2 separate regions of the Homo sapiens genome follow, and region 1 is linked to region 2. Evidence: promoter capture Hi-C in 16 types of primary human blood cells and fetal thymus (Javierre and others, 2016). All regions are on one chromosome and are shown on one strand. The core of a region is centred on a gene start or on the middle of the fragment in contact, and the rest is flanking DNA. Distances in the headings are between cores, read along the strand shown.

Evidence for each region. Contacts are between HindIII fragments. The CHiCAGO score rates a contact against its expected background, and 5 or more counts as called.
Region 1: the fragment with the promoter of CAAP1 here is called in contact with the fragment with the promoter of SNAPC3 in region 2 in 1 of 17 cell types (non-activated CD4 T cells); the score reaches 5.2 in non-activated CD4 T cells.

Annotation. Positions count from the first base shown.
Region 1 is chr9:26,889,318-26,895,707 of GRCh38, forward strand. CAAP1 (caspase activity and apoptosis inhibitor 1) reads right to left here and starts at 3,485. Exons shown (of 6, transcript NM_024828.4): 1 at 3,096-3,485. The coding sequence starts at 3,398. It also overlaps the pseudogene RN7SL100P. RefSeq lists enhancers at 2,884-3,463, 3,035-3,214, 3,295-3,514, 3,464-4,043, 3,645-3,714. The HindIII fragment of the contact is 2,677 bases long and covers 1,273-3,949 here.
Region 2 is chr9:15,420,498-15,427,121 of GRCh38, forward strand. SNAPC3 (small nuclear RNA activating complex polypeptide 3) reads left to right here and starts at 2,379. Exons shown (of 9, transcript NM_001039697.2): 1 at 2,379-2,696; 2 at 3,412-3,489. The coding sequence starts at 2,383. RefSeq lists a silencer at 2,106-2,395 and an enhancer at 2,736-2,855. The HindIII fragment of the contact is 2,004 bases long and covers 824-2,827 here.

The DNA of each region.
Region 1 (6,390 bases), core at 2,235-4,734, about 11 Mb after region 2:
TGAGGCAGAAGAATTGCTTGAACCCAGGAGGCGGAGGTTGCAGTGAGCCGAGATGGCGCCATTGCACTCCAGTCTGGGCAACAAGAGGGAAACTCTATCTCAAAAAAACAAAAACAAAAACAAAAACTGACTGTAGTGACGGTTGTACAACTCTGAATATATACAAAATCACTTAACTGTACATGTGAAATGGGTGAATTGCACAGTATGTCAACTACATTTCAATAAAGTTCTTCCCAAGAAAATAGGGAACTCGGCCGGGCAGAGTGGCTCACAGCTGTAATCCCAGCACTTTGGGAGGCCGAGGTGGGAGGCTGAGGGGGGCAGATAACAAGGTCAGGAGATCTAGACTATCCTAGCTAACACGGTGAAACCCTGTCTCTACTAAAAATACAAAAGCATTAACTGGGCGTTGTGGCAGAGGCCTGTTGCCCCAGCTACTCTGGAGGCTGAGGCAGGAGAATGGCGTGAACCCAGGAGGCGGCGCTTGCAGTGAGCCGAGATCACGCCACTGCACTCCAGCCTGGGCGACAGAGCGAGACTCTGTCTCAAAAAAAAAAAAAAAAAAAAAAGGAACCTCAATACACAACAGATATAATGGCACTCTCTAAAGTTTGAAATGTTATCTACATGCCTAATATGCAATGACCTTTTCTTCACAAATACACTAATTTTTCATTAGAAGATGGGTTTAGTTCTGTACGCAAAATGTTTTCAATATTCAATTGACCAGTGTTGTTGGTCTCCCCATCATAACGGAGTGGGAAACTGGTCAGGCGCGGTGGCTCACGCCTGTAATCCCAGCACTTTGGGAGGCTGAGACGAGTGGATCACCTGAGGTCAGGAGTTGGAAACCAGCCTGACCAACATGGTGAAAACCTTACCTCTATTAAAAATACAAAAATTAGCTGGCCATGGTGGCGGGCACCTGTAATCCCAGCTACTCAGGAGACTGAGCCAGGACAATTACTTGAACCTGGCAGGCGGAGGTTGCAGTGGGCTGAGATGGTGCCACTGCACTCCAGCCTGGGCGACACAGTGAGAGCCTATCTCAAAAAAAGAAAAAAAAAAAGGAAACTATTTAAAATAAGAATGGTAATATCCAAAACTGAATCTAGAAGGGGTGGGAAAACTGAATAGATCTATATTAAATAATTTTTTTAAAGAGTGTCTTAAAAAATCACTCTAAAAAACTCCACTAGACCCAGATACTTCTGACAAATATTTGAGAAGAAAATATAAACCATTCTAGAACACACCAAAAAAACACAAAGCTTCCTAATTCAATCCATTACAAAAATAAAAACTACAGTCTGATCTAATTTAGAAACATATACATAAAAGTTGGCCGGGCACGGTGGCTCACGCCTGTAATCCCAGCACTTTGGGAGGCCGAGACGGGTGGATCACGAGGTCAGGAGATCAAGACCATCCTGGCTAACACGGTGAAACCCCGTCTCTACTGAAAATACAAAAAATTAGCTGGGCGTCGTGGCGGGCGCCTGCAGTCCCAGCTACTCGGGAGGCTGAGGCAGGGGAATGGCCTGAACCCGGGAGGCGGAGCTTGCAGTGAGCCGGGATCACGCCACTGCACTCCGGCCTGGGCAACAGAGCGAGACTCCGTCTCAAAAAAAACAAAAAAAAAGAAACACATACATGAAAGTAAAAATACTGAATTCCAGCCAAGTACAACAAACTCAACAAACCAAACAGCACTTGTCCCAAGACTCCAAAGACTGTTCAACATCAACTAACTTATCAACAAATTACATTATCTGACTAAAGGAGAAAAAGTATGTGATCATCTCAACAGAATGCCAGAAAACCACCTGATAAAATCTCTACATAAACTGTTTCTACTCTACCAAAGAGAATAATGAGCAGAGGATATGTACAGAAAATTACATAAGAAGAAATCAAATGGCAAATAAAAATATTAAAATGTTCAATCTCACTAATAAGGAAAATAAAAATTAAAACAAACTATTAATTTGACCCACTAGTCTGGCAATTTTTTTAAAAAATGCCATCAAAATGTCATCAAAAGCTAGTTAAGAATCTCAGAAATAGGTATTCTTATATATATACTGTTTGGACTATAAATCTGTAAAGTCTCATTTGGAAAGCATTTGGTGGCATTCATAAGTTTTTAATAGCATAAACTTTGACCCAGGAATTTCAGTTCTCACACTCTCTCCCAACATAACTCTTGTAGGAGATATATACATAAAGGTGTTTGTATTGTAGTCACAACAATACAAAAAAACCTGCACACCCAAATATCAGAAAAATATAATACAATACCAGGCAGTCAGTAAAAATAACAAACCACGTATATAAAGAAGCCTATCACAACAATGCAGGTATTCAACAGCGGGAATAACACAATACAGCTTAAGTGTAGGAACTTAAAAACACGTATCTCACGAGGAGTGATTAAAAGAGGCCGCGTATCAAAATACTAATGGAGGGGCAAGAAAAGGGACTTGACGCTTTCCCTTTATTTCCTCATTGAATGAATTTAAAGTACCTATTCATTCATTTGTTTTCAAACAAATTATGAACTTTTTTAAAACGGCGTTCTCTTGGCAGACTGGTGGCGTATAAAGAACATGGCTTTTGTAGTCAGATATTTGGATTCAAACCTAGGAGCTATTAACAAACTCTGTGACCGTGGGTAAAGTTTAACTTCTTTGGGCCTCAATTTTCTTATCTCTAATGCGGAGTTAACCATATCTACGAAAAGGTGAAGACGAAGGGAGAAGTGTTTGGCTCGCAAGGGAAATGAAGGCTAGCTTCCAACTCGTATTCTTCCGGCAGAGTGAAACCATAGGAGTGGAAGGAGCCAAGAGTTTAAAAAATAAATTAAAAAAAAAGTGATCAGGAAATCCAGAAACTTGAAGTTCAAGATTCAAGACACGGATGGGAGTGTGGGGCTCACCAGGACTTAGGTAGGAACATGAACCTCAAGGACGGACGACCTTGAGATTGCCGCGCTAGCAGTGAGCTCCAGCCTGCGCCCCATCCCTCTGGAAGCCCGACTTCTTCCGAAAAAGCAGCAGCTCCAGGAAGCGGCCAGAGGGGCGCGCACGCACCTGCTGCAAGGAGCCCGAGACGCTGGAAGAGTCGGTACTCCTCCGCTTCCGGCGCTCGCTGCGCTCCACGCTGCTCCCGCCCCAACAGCTGCCGCCGCTCCCACCGCCGGTGACACTTCCACTAAAATTGGCGTTCCCACAGCAGCTGACGCTCCCGCAGCCCCCGGCGCTCCCGCAGCCGCTAGTGCTTCCACTGCTGCCGCTGGCCAACGCGGGTACGATGTCCGGGGCCGCGAGCGCTGCGGCCGCCTCCTGACTGCTACGTTTGCGCCGTTTCTCCCGGGAGGACTTTTTCCCCGTCATGATCCCTCTGCTGCAACCATCGGAGGAAAGTCCGCTGTCTCTGGTGCGACCGAAGCCCGACTCCTGCGGCCGTGGGCGGCAGGCACTGGCGTCGCAGGTTATGCGTCACTTCCGGCCGTGGCACAGAACGTGGTGAAGCGTTATGGGCCGGGGTGGCAGGGGGGTTGCCATAACCAGTTGCGCTTCCCCCTCCGGTCGCGGAGGTCGATTTGAGTGTGTAGCGGGTAGCCTGTCTAGTCAGAGTTTGTTTTGTTTTGTTTTTATATCTCTACAAAGGATAGAAGGTGGAACTTACGTCCTTTTAACTTCAAAACTTTTTATTGTTAGTGTTTTGTCTGTTTACAATAAGGTTGAAGTATAGTTGCTGATTCTCCATTTCCGTTTACCTCCAAATCTTAAGATATTAACAACGCTATGACAATAAAGAGAATAGGGAAAAGTTGTTCCATCTCATTTTCCTCATCACCTGGGCAAATTAGGTATTTCTTGCGTAGAGTCTGACATGGACAAGTAGAGCTTGAGTTCGTTTTTGAAAATTGAGAATGGGTCAAAGCTTTATGAGATTTTATGGGTGGATGTAATCTAAATAGAAGGCAGATTTTAAGACAAGGGAGCTAGAACACTTAAAACGTGAACCAAGGTCTTTGTCGTTTCAGCAGGGGCCTTTAGCCACTGAGGGAAAAAGGTAGAGCCTGGGGCAAAGCTAGCTGGGTGGTAGTAATTCTGTGCCTTTCCCTGGGGTAAGAAGCAATTAAAGAAGCTTCCCTTCTCTTTGTCTCCTATTTGTCTCAGTCATTCAACAACTACTTAAATGCCTAAAACCAGCCTAGGGTTAATAAATAGGGACACTTCCAGCCCTAGGAAAACTGTCTTCCCCCAGGCCCCACTCTTAAATTGGCCTTGTAAGGTAAATCCTGGGGCTGAGCCCACTGTGTTCCCAGGAGTTCCGTTAAGTATCACACTCATTGGAGTCATACCTGAAAGGATTGAGAGTGTTGTGTTCACAGATAGGAAAAACACATAAAATTAATAACATGTTACATTTATAAACCTGTTATGAATTGTGTCCCTGAAACCATCATAATTTTAATAAAACTAAATTGCTAGATTTTTTCTTTTTTCTTTTTTTTTTTTTTGAGACGGAGTTTCACTCTCGTTGCCCAGGCTGGAGTGCAATGGCACAATCTCGGCTCACTGCAACCTCCGCCTCCCGGGTTCAAGCATTTCTCCTGCCTCAGCCTCCTGAGTAGCTGGGACTACAGGCATGCGCCACCATGCAGGGCTAATTTTGTATTTTTAGTAGACAAGGGGTTTCTCCATGTTGGTCAGGCTGGTCTCGAACTCCCGACCTCAGGTGATCCACCCGCCTCAGCCTCCCAAAGTGCTGGGATTACAGGCGTGAGCCATCGTGCCCTGCCAAATTGCTGGATTTGTGACAAAAGATAAGCTTTTAGTAGAAGCATAGCTAAACGTTAACCAACTTTTCCTATAGCCCACTTCCTTATAGCTGCTTATTGCTTTATAGATATCTTTGACTCGGTTAAGAAATCTCAAGTTTTCCATTTTGAGATATTTACCAGATTCTGTACTCCAATGGTGTTACAGAAGTTAAGAAATTATTTTAGGCAGATAGAGAGGTAAAGGGGTCTTTGGGAAGTTTTTTTTCTTTTAAAGCAGCTCCAGAAATGTTTCTTGTCTAGCAAAAAAGCTGGGCTGGCAAGCTATGATATGCAAATGCAGGCCGTTAGAAACTGGGTTTACTCAGTATGGCGATTCCCCTCTTCTTCTTGTCCCCACATGTGCCTAGCAACATGGCCATCCCCACATATCCCCACATGTGTAGAACATTGTGGCACCCTACATTCGCATATTAAAAGGCTAGGGTGGGAGGGCCACTTTTTTTGCAGGCTACGTGAATGACATACCTGGTCAAACCAATTCCCTGGGTCATATGCAAATTAGTCACCACCTCCTCCAGCCTCATAATATAACTGGCTCTTGTCTGCTGCACCCAAGGTTCCCTCTTTCATCTGGGAGCCCTCTTCCCTCTGGTTCTGTATGAGGGAGCCTCTTCTTTCTTGCCTATTAAATTCTCCGCTCCTTAAAACAATTCCACTTGTGTCTGTATCGTTTTATTTAAACCAGCACGAGACAAAAGACTGTGGTGTTCCTCCAGTCATTGGAACCATATCAGTGGGGTCACTGATGCTACTCAGTCTGAAGACCCCTTCTGAGAAACGAACTCAGCACAAGAATGCACTTTCTACCTCCTTATGATTACATCCCCCATGCCCTAACCAATCAGCAACCCCTAGCTCCTCAGCCCCCTACCCACCAAAATTCCCTTAAAAACCCCTGTCCAAAAACTTACTGGGGAGGTGATTTGAGGTTCCCTCCCATCTTCTCCCTTGGCTGGCATACCATTATTAAACTCTTTCTCTGCTGCAACTCCTGCTGTTTCCATGTATTGGTCTGGTACCATGTAGTGGTTAATAGAACCTGATGGTCCTATAACATCACCCACAGAATTCATATGTTGAATCCCTAACCCCAATGTGACTGAATTTGGAGATAGGGTCATTAAGGAGGTAATTAAGGTTAAATGAAGTCATAAGGGTGGGTCCCTAATCTAATATAACTGGTGTCCTTATTAAAAGAAGAGTCTGGGCCAGGCATGGTGGCTCACGCCTGTAATCCCAGTGCTTTAGGAGGCCGAGGCGGGTGGATCATGAGGAAGATGGAAACCATCCTGGCTAACACGGTGAAACCCCGTCTCTACTAAAAATACAAAAACAAAATTAGCTGGGCGTGGTGGCAGGCGCCTGTAGTCCCAGCTACTCAGGAGGCTGAGGCAAGAGAATGGCGTGAACCCAGGAGGTGGAGCTTGCAGTGAGCCAAGATCGCACCACTGCACTCCAGCCTGGGCGACAGAGCAAGACTCCGTCTCAAAAAAAAAAAAAAAGCCTGGTACAGTGGTGCATGCCTGCAGTGC
Region 2 (6,624 bases), core at 1,129-3,628:
AATTGGTAAAGAACTTGAATATACATTTCCCCAAAGAAATATGCAAATGGTCAATAAGCACATGAAAACGTGTTCCATCAATATAATTAGGGAGATGCAAATAAAAAGTCATGAAACACCATTTCACACTCACTGACACGGTTATAATAAAAAGTTCAGATAAGTGTTGGCAAGGATGTGGAGAATCCTGCTGGGGAGGGGAGTAAAATGGGACAGCCACTTTAAAAAAATCTGGCAGTTCCTCAAATAGTTGAAAATAGAGTTCCATAAATACAGAAATCCCTTGGTATCTGCAGGGTGGACTGTTTCGAAGACCCCTGTGGACTCCAAAATTGACAGATGCTCTTCTTGCAGTCAGCCCTGTGGAATCCGCCCATAGGAAAATTCCTCTTATCCTCAGGTTCTGCAACCTGGGAATACTGTAATTTTTGATATGTGGTTGGTTGAATTGGAGGATGCAGAACCCACAGATAGGGAGGGCTGACTGTATACTACTGGGCACATGCCCAAGAGAAATGAAAACGTATTTGCACAAAAATGTGTACATGAATGTTCATAGCAACGCCAAAAGGTAAAAACTTTTTGATAAATAAAATGTGGCATATACATACAATGCAATATTATTCAGCCAAAAAAGGAATGAAGTACTGACACATACTACAAAATGGATGAACGTGTTACAGGTGGCAGGTATCCAAGTTACCAGGGCAAATCTGTATGGGTCTGCAGCAACTTCAGTTCTTGCCTCCTCAGAAGAAAGAATTTGACCGAGGGGCAATAAGGCACAAAAAGAGACTGAGGCAAGTTTCAGAGCAGGAGTGGAAGCTTATTTAAAAGGCCTTTAGGAAAGAAAGGAAAGCACGCTCGGAAGAGTCCCAAGCTGTCACTGAGGTCAACTGTGATATTGACCTCGATCCTAGGACTTTACAGGCTGGCTCCTTTCCCATGATTCTTCCCTTAGGGTGGGCTGCCTCCATGCGCAGTGCCCTCCTTACCCTTGGGAAGTGAGCACAGCGCAATATGTATGAAGTTGTATGCGTGCCCATCTGAGGCTTTCTTCCCTTTTCCGATAGAGTCCCCCTGAAAGGTCATACTCCCCGATTTTGTCTCTTAATGCATATGCCCAGGAAGTTGCTTCTCCCTGTCACCTGCATTCAACGAGCACTTTAGTGCAACAGGTGTGGGCCATCAGGAAATGGCCTCTCCCTGGCACCGGCTGCCAATTTATCACTTTTAGAGGCAATGTGATAAATGCCTAAGCATCACCCCACATTCCTAGTGGGTGAGGGAAGAGCCCTCTCCTGCCCTGCTCATGCCTAACTACCTGTAACAAACCTTGTAAACATTAAGCCAGCCACCAAAAGACCATATAATTCCGTTTATATTAAATGTCCAGATTAGTTAAATCTAGAGAGACAAAGTAGGTTCTTGGTTGGCTAGGGCTGGAGGAGTTGGGAGGATCAGGGGTGATAGCTAAAAAGTACAAGTTTCTTCTTTCGAGTGGTAAAAATGCTCTCAAATAGTGGTGATGGTTGCCCAAGCCTGTGAATATACCAAAAATCACTGAACACTTCAAATGGGTGAATTATATGGCATGTGATTACAGTCTAATAAATAAATAGTATGTCCTGCTGTATCCTTCAGGGCCTCTGAGAAATGGAGAGAGCTCCATCTGAAGCCAGACTGAGTTCCGATCCTGCTTCTATTTTCCCCGCAGGTAAATCCTTCCTCAACAGCAACACGGGGTGATACGCCCTATCCGGAAAGGTTGTTGTAATTTTTAAAAACATTAAAAACATACATTAGGGTTAATCATGTAGCGTGTGATACACAGACGCTCTGAAACACTACTGCACACGCACACCAACATGGGGCCTCTGCGGAGCTTGTGAAAGAACCAGATCTGGAGGGCTGGTCGTGTCCCTGGTCTCGGCCCTCGCCCTCCTTGTTTCTTAGGCTCTAAAGCAATCAGGCAGCAGAGCAGTCCTTGAACCCCAGTCAAGAAAAAGCCCTGCACCCCTTAGTCCGAAAGCCGCAAGGAACGGGGCCTAAGCGCCTGGCGAGGCCGCCCTACCGGGCAGAGACAGTTGCTACGTAACTCGGGGACCAGAAACCCAGCCCCACCCGCTGCGGTTAACCGACAGCCGCAACGGTTCCCGCACCGCCCGGGTCGGAGAACAATGCTGCGCCCTGCACGTAGAGCCTCGCGGTGCCGCGCCCTGGGGCGGGCCTGCCCATGGCCTGCCGGGAAATGTAGTTTCTGATGCCCTGCCCGCGCCGCCTCGCCGCTCGCCGGCCGGGCGCCCCAAGCAACTACAACTTCCATCACGCTCTGCGAGGCCTTGATCTGCAGGCTTTTGCAGGGGAAGGAGTGGGGCGAACATGGCTGAAGGAAGCCGAGGTGGCCCTACGTGTAGCGGGGTGGGTGGCAGGCAGGACCCAGTCTCCGGCAGTGGCGGCTGCAACTTTCCAGAGTATGAGCTTCCCGAGCTAAATACGCGCGCTTTCCATGTGGGCGCCTTTGGGGAGCTGTGGCGGGGCCGTCTGCGCGGGGCCGGGGACTTGTCGCTGAGGGAGCCGCCGGCATCCGCTCTGCCTGGGAGCCAGGCAGCTGACTCCGACCGGGAGGATGCCGCGGTGGCCAGGGATCTGGACTGCAGCCTGGAGGCGGCGGCTGAGCTGAGGGCGGTGTGCGGGTGAGTGCGGAGCAAAGGGGCTCTTGCAGCTTGGGGTCAAACAGGGTGCAGCCTTGCTCGTGCGCTCCTCTGGGACTCATCCCTGAGAAGGGCCTGTGGTTTAGACCTGGGCTAGGAGTATTACCCTTTAAAGCTTTCAACCCGCTGGAGCCTTCCTGGGACACCAGGAGAAGTCCTGGGACCCGAATGCACAGTTTCTACGAGTTGGAGCAAAGGGACAAGACAGCTGCATCAAAGACTAGTTTTTCCATTTGCTTATTCTAAGAGTGCTTGTTAATAAAGAAAAGCAATCAGGGCAACAGCGACGTGTACCTGCCATTGACAGACACTTTGACAATGGAGGAACCTGAGTAATGGTGAAGCTGCGGGAGACTTCATCAGAGGAGTGTTAAAACCCCGACTAACTGGTTTCTTTTGGGGACCTTCCGGGTATTCTGTTACTGAAATATTTCTTAAAAGTGCCTTATTTGGGGATGAAAATATAAAAATAACTTTAATCTCTTTCTCCATTTAACAGTACTGGCTGCCTTCATCGGCCTTTTCATTATAAAATATAATCACAGAAATCGTTGTCTTAAGTTCTGGCCTCTCTGAGCCGCCTGCTGGATTTTATCTGACTTCGTAATTCAGTAATGTATTTAGGAAAACAACCCTAACTCGCTGTGAACCAGATGCAGAGTCGACCTTAAAGTATTGCTTTTCCTTTTTGTTTTAGCCTTGATAAACTGAAATGCCTTGAGGACGGTGAGGATCCAGAAGTCATTCCGGAGAATACTGACCTGGTGACTTTGGGGTATGGAGGACTTGGTTTTTATGACCTATTTATTTAAACATTTTTTCAACATTATGTTTTGAAAAGTTGAAAGTGCAGTATTGATTGTTGTCTGTATACCCACCCCTTAAATTCAGCTGTTCTTAATATTTGACCATATTTACTTTAGCCGTGTGTATGGGATGCCTGCTGTGTGTTTTTTCATTTTGCTATCCCCCATTCAGTAAGTTAGACATGATAATTTACCCGTAAATACATAAGCATATAGCTTCTAAAAGTATCATTCTCCTACATAATTATTGTGGTATTATTATACCTAAGAAAACCGTAAATACATAATCTATAATATTCAGTCCATATTCAAACTTGTGTTTATTTTTTAATATTTTTGAATGTTTGTTTATAGAGGTAATCTACTTAGATCTGGGGGGCAACCTAAATACTCTGACAGTGTTTTTCAAACTATTTGTGGTAAAGGACAGTTCTTGTTTTTAAAAATTTTTAATCTTTGACAGATTTATGCTTTGATAAAATACTATAAAAAGAATTACTAGAAAAATGGAATTAAAAAAGACAAACACAATATAAGTTCAAATTTTTAATTAAATTCAATAGACAAAATTATTCAATGATAATGGAAGTTTCTAAATGCTTACTGTCATTTTCTGTACAGATTGGTTAACAAATAGGTCATAGATGAATTCTGGTCTGCCTACCACTCTTTGAGAGGCACTGTTGTATGATAATATAGAGAAATTGTGCATGTAATAGTGAAATTTATAATTTCCAATTTATAGTCCACTTATTTCATACTACCTCAGCTATGTTCTGTCGTTCTTGATCCTACGCTATTATCCCCCTCAAATATTCAGGCAGTCATTTCAACTCTACTTGGGTTTTCTTTCATAATAACTGCTAAATCTGTTCCCCTGGTCCCTACTGCTGACTTTTACAGCAGCAACACCTGGAGCACTGTGCAAGGTTCTTAAGTGTCTTTGATAAGTACAGTCATTTCTCCCACTGATTTATCCATCATGCTGTCGCCTGAGCAAGCCATTTTGCTTAAAAATGGTCTATGGCCCTACATCTCCTATATGGAAAAATTTCAAACTCCTTAGCTAGACATTTGAAGCCTTCCACATATATCCCAAATTTGCCTTTCCAGATTTATTTTCAACCACTTTCTCTTTCAGATGGCTCAGGATGCATGTGGCCTCTCTCCCATCTGAAACATACCACTTCTATGTTATGTTATGTTACGTTATTTTTTTGAGATGCAGTCTCACTCTGTTGCCCAGGCTGGAGTGCAGTGGCGTGATCTCTGCTCACTGCAACTTCTGCCTCCGGGTTCAAGCGATTCTCCTGCCTCAGCCTCCGGAGTAGCTGGGATTACCGGTGCCTGCACCCTCGGCTGCCTAACTTTTTTGCATTTTTTGTAGAGACGGGTTTCACCATGTTGGCCAGGCTGGTTTCAACTCCTGACCTCATGTGATCTGCCCAACTCGTTCTCCCAAAGTGCTAGGATTACATGCGTGAGCCGCCACACCTTGCCCATACCACTTTTTTAAAAGCCCAAAGATTCCTTTCCAGATTACCACAACCCATCTTTCCCTTAGGAAACAGATGCATTTATACTGCCTTAAACTCTTAACATTTCTAAAGTCCTTGAAGGCTCAATGAGAGTCCAAACTCCCATCTGTGTATTGTTCTCAAGCCTACTATACTGCCTTGCTCCAATTGGTGCTCTGTAACTATTGTTGATTGATTAGTTGTATTTGTCTAAAATGCACATCTGATTGTCACTCCCTTGCCTAAAACCTTTTGATGTCCCTTAGGCTGAAGTCCTGAGTCTGTAGTGGCTCACAAAGGCCTCTAAGGAGTGGACCTTGCTGTTTTCATTTTGTTTTGTTTTTGAGATGGAATTTCACTCTTGTTGCCCAGGCCTGAGTGCAATGGTGCGATCCCGGCTCACGGCAACCTCCGCCTCCTAGGTTCAAGTGATTCTCCTGCCTCAGCCTCCCAAGTAGCTGGGATTACAGGCATGTGCCACCACGCTTAATTTTGTATTTTTAGTAGGGACGGAGTTTCTCCATGTTGGTCAGGCTCCATGTTGGCCAACCTCTCGTGATCCACCCACCTCGGCCTCCCAAAGTGTTGGGATTACAGATATGAGCCACCGCACCTGGCCCGACCTTGCTGATTTTTTTTAAGCTTTCTCTCTGCAGTGTTCCAGCCACACTGCACTGTGTTTCAGTTCCTCGAATATGCTCTCTCACTCCAGGCCTTTGCCCAGAACAGTCATTCTTGCTTATCTCCTGACCTTGTTGACTTCTACTCATCCTGCAAGTCTTAGCTAAAGGACTACGGACTCCATTTAGGTCATCTTGTATGCTCATGTAGCACCCTATGCTTCCCTATTGAAATGCTCATCACATCTGTAATATACGTGTTTAATTTTCTGTCTTCTTAGCTACACTTGAAAGTTCCTTAAGTTACATCTGCCACACTCACTGCTATATTACCAATTCCTAGAACTGTGGTGCATAGTAGGGAGCCAACAAATATTTGTAGAATGAGTGGAATAAATGAAACTTTCAGAAGACTCAGGAAGTGATTTTTAGAGATAGACTGAAAAAAGAACGTTGATGATAATCATATTAAAGCAGACTCTTTTTTGCTATAGTTAATAATGTATTCATTGATTTATAGTAATTTTGTTAAGCCATGTTAAATAGTAATTTTAAGACTGCTTAAACATTATTTCCCTTGACTACTTTGCACTACTAGGTCAACTAGATCTCTTTGGTTTCTTCTAGTCCCTCCAAACAGGATTTGTGGGTAGAATTATATATAATCTAATGTAAATCAGTACGGTATTCTTCAACTGGGGTTATTTTGATATACTGTGAAGCTAGTGTATTTAATACATGACCATTGTTAACCTTAATGGTCCTGCCAAAAAAAAATTAGACTTGTGGCAAAAGCCTAAATTTGTATCTCTATGCTTTATCTTTCTCTGAACCTTCCTTTTCCTCACCAATAATTTCACATTATTATATTATAAAAATAAAACATAAGTACATCATTTCTTTATTATGACATAAAATAAATTTCTGGTACTTTTTCTTTCCCACATCAAATGAAAGAGCTCGTTTT